2 separate regions of the Homo sapiens genome follow, and region 1 is linked to region 2. Evidence: promoter capture Hi-C in 16 types of primary human blood cells and fetal thymus (Javierre and others, 2016). All regions are on one chromosome and are shown on one strand. The core of a region is centred on a gene start or on the middle of the fragment in contact, and the rest is flanking DNA. Distances in the headings are between cores, read along the strand shown.

The links. The method cuts DNA at HindIII sites, captures the fragments that hold promoters and counts their contacts. A CHiCAGO score of 5 or more calls a contact.
Region 1: a fragment that was not itself captured here is called in contact with the fragment with the promoter of WWC1 in region 2 in 1 of 17 cell types (activated CD4 T cells); the score reaches 6.3 in activated CD4 T cells.

Annotation. Positions count from the first base shown.
Region 1 is chr5:163,545,945-163,550,268 of GRCh38, reverse strand. No RefSeq gene overlaps it. Among named protein-coding and RNA genes, the nearest start is that of MAT2B, 42 kb to the right of the region's middle. The HindIII fragment of the contact is 3,119 bases long and covers 597-3,715 here.
Region 2 is chr5:168,290,133-168,294,425 of GRCh38, reverse strand. It overlaps WWC1 (WW and C2 domain containing 1), which reads right to left and starts at 2,781. Exons shown (of 23, transcript NM_015238.3): 1 at 2,155-2,781. The coding sequence starts at 2,273. RefSeq lists silencers at 1,969-2,388, 2,489-3,008 and an enhancer at 4,153-4,232. The HindIII fragment of the contact is 16,463 bases long and covers 1-4,293 here.

The sequences.
Region 1 (4,324 bases), core at 907-3,406, 4.7 Mb after region 2:
CTGTGGAAACCCTCCAGGTTTGACTCCAGACATCTCACATATCTAGATCAAAAGGTATCAAAAAGCTCCTGAATGGAGACCACGGTCCTGTTTTAATATGGATGGTCAGGTCAGGTCTGAGGATCTGTTAGCACTTCTGAAAGGTCTCATCTCAGTTTATCATTTCCCTCCTTACCCATTTCAAGGACATTACCTAGAAAGATTTTTATACTTACAAAGACCTCTTCCAGAAAGACTCCACACATAAAATCCCTCAGAATTGATCCAATCTTTTTTTTTTAACCCACAAAAAAATTTACACATGCCACACTAAGGAAATAAATTCTACAGTGGTCAGACTTACCAAGTTTTGAACTTGCACTTCCTAAGTCCTTTTCCATAAAGATAGGGCTGAAAGGATATTTTCCTCTAATATGGGTATATTCATAACGCCTGATAGTTCACTTTATTCTGACTTTACTCTGGCTGAGGAACTGGTTATATAAGAATCAAAATAACTTCTTCTGATTACTAAATAAATGTGTAATGAAAATATGCAAAAGCCATCTGGGTCTACACAAGCCAATCCTAGGTATCATTATTGTTCCCTTTAAGCTTGCATAGGTTTGAATTACAGAAAAATAATGAGAAAATTCTTTGAGATGTTTAGCTATGCTGCTTAGAAACATATAAAGGATCATGGAGATTTCATCTTTGGTACTAATAGAAAAGAACTTCCATTGGAAAGCGAAATGCTTTTATGTTTTAATGCTCTCTAAAATGACCAGAAAGTCACTCCAAAATGTACTTCTGAAAAGGTGTCAGATTTTTATTGACCTCGTGGGAGACAGATTTCTGGTTAATTAGAAGCTCATCTGTGAACAGACATCTGAAAGTCCAGTGAGAAACCATAACAACTTTTTGGAGGGGTTTCTCTTCATCTGTTGTCTGACAGAGCAGTCAGATAGCAGTGGGATCCATCCGTTTTTCTTAAGAGATAAAATTCCAGCTTTTGCCACACACATTCAGTGAGCCCGAGCCTCCGGAAGGGCGGGCTTTTGCTGGCCTCCTTTATTGATTAGCTTGAAACCAGAAATGCGTAATAAATATCATTGTGCTCAATTTGAAAAAAGAAACTAAATACTCAACACTGCCCGTCCCGATATAAACCCTTCATCGATTAAAAAAAAAAAAAAAGGAAAGGAAAGGATAAGATTACAACAAAAGAAAAACCACAAAAACGATCAGCACCAAGGCAAAGGCAGTGCCATTGTAAACAAAATGACTCCTTTAGAAAGGAAGCCTGATGTTCTCCACCTAACTTAGAAATTATCAGGCATCAAATTATAATCAGATAGTCTTTTCATGTGGTAGATAAAAGAGGAAACCAGAAAGACCATCAGTGACTGATGGAGATGCGTGCAGGTATTGAAGGTGAAGAGGGGCCCTCAAGCTCCTCCCCTTGGTCTACCATGCGTGACCTCAGCCTGTGACCCAGATTTTGCTGACAGTTATAACGTTTGTAATATAACGAATATCCTTCCAGTTAATAGTAATAGGTCTAGACCTATTTAACTGATTCTTATCTCCACTTGCTATTGTATTATATATTTATTTTTATTTGTATATTGCCCATGGGCTCCATCAGAATAAAACCCATGGAAGACAAGGTTTGTGTCTCAATCACCTCCAGTTCTTCAATATTTGCCAAAGACAAGAATTAATGAATAGAATACAAGGGGTTGGGGATTGCTGCATTTGCTTTCAGCGAGCCCCTAAATATGAAATGAGAACTTAATTGGTCTGGAGGGAGGAAAATGTAACAACTACTATAATCAGAACATTATCCCTTAATTGTCAGGCAAGAGCTAGGAAATGCCATCTGGTATAAGATAAAGAAATCTTGTTGGAAACCATCAAAGGATACTACTACATTCTATCATCAATGACCACAGATATAAACCGCAACATCGATACAATAAGAAGCTATTCAGTCATTTTAAAAAATCAGATCACAGAATATAGTTTAAGGTAGAAAAATAGTGACTGTATATTAGGTGAACATGGCAGGTAGAAAATGCGGAGTTTGGTTCTGTTTATTTAATAATCTGAAATCCCACACTGATATACACTCAGTAACTATCATCGGATTAATTTGGTGTGATTACATATCTTTGCACTCAGCGGTGATTTTAGAGGTGTCTGCATTAGATATGTATTAATTTCATAACTAGAAAGGAGCTCAATGAAGTTCTAGAAAAAAGACTGCCCCACCCCAAAGCTCACAATTGGGCCACAGGACTACATTTACTGCCCATATTTATGTCACCTACCCTTTAGAGAGAGTAAGAGTAAATTTAAGACTAATTATTTTTAGAAAACAGATTCTTTAAAAAAACAAGTCTGGCCGGGCACAGTGGCTCACGCCTGTAATCCCAACACTTTGGGAGGCTGAGGCAGGCAGATCACGAGGTCAAGAGATCAAGACCATCCTGGCCAACAAGGTGAAACTCTGCCTCTACTAAAAATACAAAAATTAACTGGGTGTGGTGGCGCACACCTGTAGTCCCAGCTACTTGGGAGGCTGAGGCAGGAGAATTGCTTGAACCTGGGAGGCGGAGATTGCAGTGAGCCAAGACCACACCACCACACTCCAGCCTGGCGACAGAGCGAGACTCCATCAAAAGAAAAAAAACCAACAAACAAAAAACCAACAAGCAAACAAAAAAACATCTGGGCACAGTGGCTCACACTTATAATCCCACCACTTTGGGAGGCCGAGGCAGGCGGGTCACTTGAGGTCAGGAGTTCAAGACCAGCCTGACCAACATGGTGAAACCCCATCTCTACTAAAACTAAAAAAATTAGCTGGGTGTGATAGCGCATTCCTGTAATCCCAGCTACTCCAGAGGCTGAGGCAAGAGAATTACTTGAACCCAGGAAGCAGAGGTTGCAGTGAGCGGAGATCACACCACTGCACTCCAGCCTGGGCAACAGAGCAAGACTCCATCTAAAAACAACAATAACAAGAAAAAGAAAGATCAATTCAGGCCGGGTGCAGTGGCTCATGCCTGTAATCCCAGCACTTTGGGAGGCCGAGGTGGGTGGATCACCTGAGGTCAGGAGTTCAAGACCAACCTGGTCAACATGGTGAAACCCTGGGTCTACTAAAAATACAAAAATTAGCCAGGTATGGTGGCGGGCGACTGTAATCCCAGTTACTAGGGAGGCTGAAGCAGGAGAATCACCTGAACCCGGGAGGTGAAAGTAGAGGTTGCAGCGAGCGGAGATAGCGCCACTGCACTCCAGCCTGGGCGACAGAGCGAGACTCTGTGTCACACACACAGAACAAAAAGCAAGTTTACCTCTTAACCTAGACTGTCAAGCTCCCTAGGAACCAACCAAAAGCAGCCTGGCTGTTCATCCTCAGACCCTGATCATTTTCTCTCCCTTTGGATTCCTCTCCTCTTTTGCACGTAGCAGAGTCTTTCTTCCCTGGCTCCCATCTGTCCAGCATGGAGCTCTGTGCTCCTCTCAGGTGCAAAAGGAAGGCTCCTATCACAGGCAGGATAAAGTCCCTGTTAGGACCTTGGAGCTACCCAGAAACTGAGGCTCAAACTGAAAATTAAACATCTCTGGACAGCTGCCACTTATTAATGCATGATACACAGGGTTACCTCAAGGACAGTGTGATCATCTCAAACTTTGATGTGCTGGGTGGGGTTGGGGAGAAGCTTCTGGAGCATGTCCTCTCAAACTAAACAAACATAAGATTTATCTGCAGAGCTGGCTGAATGAGAAGTTTCCAAGACCTTGCTCCCAAGTTTCTATTTCAGTAGACCATTTTTAATATGCTCATTGAATAGGTTTCTAAGGCAATTCTGCTGCAGATGGTTCACAGATCACACCCTGAGAATACAATTTTCAAACTTTATCTAATTACACAGTGCAGACACTGAGGTCTAAGCTTCACCCCATCTCTGGTTGAACTGAAGTCAGGAGGTTTGCCTCTAGCTGGCTGTAAAAAAAAAAAAAAAAAGAAGTGATAAAGTAGATTTTCTGAGCATTTGGAATTTAAATCCCGATTTCTGCTTTTAGGAATGTGACTGCGTTCTCACCTGGGAACTTTAGGCAATGCTGTTTTGCATTTATAGTTTATTTTGCTCAGTAATTATTCACAAAGTGTTTTATAGGGTCTATTTGGTCTCAGCAGCTTGATCATAAACTCCTGGGATAGTTGGAAGGCTTTAAATATTTTTTCAAACACATGGAAAGAAAGAAATTGTGCTTAGCACAGTGTTTTTTTATACAAATGCATCCAAGGTCACAGGTGCATATTTTCTAC
Region 2 (4,293 bases), core at 1,532-4,031:
TTTTTTGTTTGCCTATCTTTTTTGTTTCCCCTGTATGACAATAGATATAACTAGTTTCCCATTTGTGAAAATGGTACACATATTTTTAAAGTGAGTTGATCTAAAGTCAAGGAGTAAGTAAGCAATAGCACAGGTGGATATAGCAAAAAAAAATCATGGAGGTGGTCCATGTAACACTAAAATTTGGGAGATTGTGCTCCAGCCAATCAGTTCTTCATAGAAGCTACTTACTTACCCTTTTCCAAGGGTAAAGAATTACTGTTGAGAGGGGCCTCCTATTGCTGTATTAGAAGTCCCCAGATGCATGATTATCAGTGTTGGCAGGGGCGGTCCTTTCCCTCCAACAGGACGTCCACCTGCTAACAGCACACAGGCCTCCGTAAACTACAGGGACCTAAATTGGGGCAGGTCACATATGTTTGAACTTGTGTCTGTTCTGAGAAAAGGACAAGAGAAAAGGTGCTGCCAAGTTCACCAACACAGTAGCAGAGCTGGCAACTGACCCGAGTAAGGGTGGGGAAGCAGTGTGTCAGGGTGACAAGTTTGCAGGTTAGAACTTCAGAGCTGGTGAAGAACTGGTACGCAGAATGGCAGAAAAATCAAAATACTTGAGCAAATCACACCTCTGGGCTTCAAATTTTCTCTTATGTTTCAAATGGGAGTTGGGCGCTGATGTACGTCCCTTCCAAGTTTTAAGCATCCCAATATTCCCTTCCAAGCAAACTTTTTAAATTCAGGGAAATGGTGGGCTCCCCCATCTGACAAACAGGGAAACTGAGGCTCAGAGGTTGAAGCAGCTTGCCTAAGAGATGCTCTCTAGCACTAAATATTTACCTTCCAGATTACATTCATGAGACATTCAGCATGGTGCTGAGTGTAGAGGAGGCATCCAGGAAGCGCTGAATGAACGAATGAATGAATGAATGAAAGTAAGTGCTCCCAGAAACTACCGAGAATCTCAACTCTCATTTTCTTTCCGCTTATATTCTTTTTTTGACCCACATCTTGCTACATACACTTCTGGGACACCTCCACCCCCACCACACAAGATGAAGAGTCCAAGAAATTCACCTTGGTTGCTTTACAGGGACCTGACCCCCAAGGTCACAGACAAGGTTTAAAGTCCGCATTCCCCAAGACACTCTGCCCACAGACCGTGTCAACAACATCGTGGTCCGGGGACTCTAGGACATACATGGAGAGGGTGAATGTATGTGTGTGTGTGCAGCATGTGAGCAAAGAAATGCCAAACAACCAGGAGAAAGTCTGGAGAGGTAAGAGCCACACCGAGCTATCTCAGGCTCCATCTGCCTCTGCACATTATCTCAACCTACAGCGGCCTGGTACCCACCAAGGTCAGGTCCCGCTGGTGCAGGGCTGAGGAGCCTCGCCGCCCCCTTCCCCGATCAGGGAAGAAAGAGAGGAGAAAGAGGCGAGGGGCAAGGCTTTCCGGGAGGCCTCTCACCTCCATCTCCATCCTAACAGCTTCCAAGTTGCTGCCAGATTCCTGGATAACCAGTCTCCCTCATCTGCCCTCCCCCGCTTCTTCACTTCCTCCCCACCCTCGGGTTCCAGGGCCCCCTGGCTGCCCCTGTGCTGTTCTCAGCAGCTTCCAAGGCACCTGTCAAAAAGCACACCTCAGGTTGCCTTCCTCTGCGCCGAGTGCCCTCTCTCCAGTGGTCTCCCACGGAATCCTGGGGTCTTGACCACCCCCTCTAACCGGACACTTCCCCATCCCCATCCGCCCACCCCCCACGCTGGGTGGAAGCCTCCCCGGGAAGACCCGGCTTCACCCGGCTAGGTCGCTCCCCCAACCCCCGCCCCCGCCCGACCTCTCTTCCTAAAGGGGGCGGGCGGGGCTAGAGCTTAAGGTCAAAACTCCGGGCAGGTGCCGGCTGGGGCCTAAGTCCTCCAACTGGGGATGGCGGTGGGGCAGCCTGGGCCAGCTCCCCGGCAGGCGCCTCCTCTCGGTGGCCCACTGAGGCGGGAGCAGCGCTCCAGAAGGTTGGGGGGAGCAGGGGGTGGCGAACTGAAGAGAGCTCAAGAGGCACGCAGAGCTCCCCTGCCCCCTCCCAGTCCCGGCCGGCGGCTCCAGGGGCAGGTGGGGGCCCAGGCGGGGGTGTGGGGGCACGGAGGAGGGTTCCAGGGTCCTACCTGTCCCGCGGGTCGATCCAGCTGGTGGTGCGGTTCGTGTGGTCTATGTAGTAGACCTTGCCGTCGAAGTCGCGCGCCTCCTCCCAGCCCTCCGGCAGGGGCAGCTCCGGCCGGGGCATCTTCCCAAGCGCTGCCGGCGCTCCCCCATGCAGCTCCCGGCCGCAGCGGGGGCTCAGCGGCTCCAGCCGGCCGCTCTTAGCCCGGGCGGCCGCCGAGGCACCATGATCCGGGGGGTGGCGCCCGCAGATGGGGGGCCCTAGTAGGGGCCGGCCGGGGTGGCGCCGCTGTCCATGCGGCCCTGCAGCCCCGACCCGGCGCCGCCCGCTCCTCCCGCCGCCGGCCTCTCACGCTGCCATGTGCGTCCGCAGCGGCGCGGTGCGAGCCCGGGTGCGCGCCCAGCCGGCCGGGCAGAGCGAGCCGAGCGCCGCCGCCGCCGCCGTCTGCCCTCCTCCGCCGCGCGGCGCGCTGCGCCCTCCACGCCGCCGCTGCCGCTGCCGCCTCCCTCCTCCCTGCAGCCGGGTGCCGTCCCTCCTCTCCGCTCCACCGCTCTGAGCTCGCCGGGTTTGTGACTTCTGCCTCCGCCAGGTGCGGCTCGGGCGGTGCAGGTAACCGCGCTGCCCCGGAAACGGGAGGCGGAGCGCCGGGCGCCTGGGTTCCCGGGTCCCCTCCCCGCGCGCAGCGCCTCGAGGGCGGGTCCTAGGGCCCGAGACGCGCCCCCTCGTGGGACAGTCCCAGCCGCCGGCCACCCTTACGCTGCCCCTGCCAGGGGAAGGAGAGACCGCCCCTCACCTGCGTCCCAGACCTAGGGGGCTGGGCCAAAAACCGCTCTGCCTGTACTTAAAACGCTCCTGTCTCTCTCCACCCGGAGTAGCCAGGCTCTCGGCACAGGTGGCCCCAAATCTTAAAAACTCCCTGCTTTTCTGTGGTGTAGAATCAGGAGTCAGGCAAGAAGTGGTTAAATGGAAACATTCTTGCGAATTGGGAAACATAAGTTTTCCAGGATCTCTGGTCCCTTCCCCCAACACAGGCACCATCTGTCTCCTTCTATTCAACTCTCCCTACGACGTTTCGCCCACCCTCCACCCTTCCCCACCATTTGGAAATGTAGCTGGCTCCCCTCAGGGTCCCTAAAATTAGGAGCGCTGTGGATCCGCTTTCCTGGGAGGACTTCCAGAGGGTGTCAGGGAAAACACTTTGTAAAAGTAATAGTAATGCCATTGTTATTGTTAGCTAAATTGAGGACTTACTTGTGACAGGCTGTGGCTAGCAGCTTCACAGGCTTTCTTTCCTGTGATACTTTGAGGTAGGTGTGTTATGGATTTGGGAGAAGTGGGGCTATGAAAAAGAAGAAAGTAAGCAAAGCAAAATTCCATCTTGAAAAATGTTCAAGAGAATAAAACAATCAGAGACACAATGTTTCTTGAGAAATTAAAAATGTAGAATTAGTGGGTGCGGTGGCTCACGCCTGTAATCCCAGCACTTTGGGAGGGTGAGGCAGACAGATTACCTGAGGTCAGGATTTCAGACCAGCCTGGCCAACATAGTGAACCCCATCTCTACTAAAAAATAATAATAATAAATTAGCTGGGCGTGGTGGTGCACGCCCGTAGTCCCAGCTACTCGGGAGGCTGAGGCATGAGAATCACTTCAACCTGGGAGGTGGAGGTTGCAGTGAGCCAAGATCGCACCACTGCACTCCAGCCTGGGCAACAAAGCGAGACTCTGTCTCAAATAAATAAATAAATAAATTTAAAATGTAGCATTAAATACAAAAAGCAAGCTAGCATGATTGAGTGAATGATCAACTGGCTGTTCACTTCCCCATCTCCTCTTACATCTGTGTACTGAGTGGGAATTTAACCCTTTTTTGCCCTCGGCATATGGCAGGAAGCTGGACTGGTCGAATGAAGCCCAGTTGGGTGTCTTCTCTTGCCTGAGCCCCACGGTCTTCCAGAAGAACCAGCACCCTGTGCTGTATGGACCAGGGTGTTGCTGAGCCAGAGAGGGAATCATGTTTGTGGTCTCATCTCCTCTTGACAGAAAAGACCCACCAGAGTGAGCCTCGCCTCCAAATGCCTTCTTCATAGTTAATTCCTTCCCTGAGGCCAGGCCTCGGGGCTCAGTGCTTGGCCCTCCTTC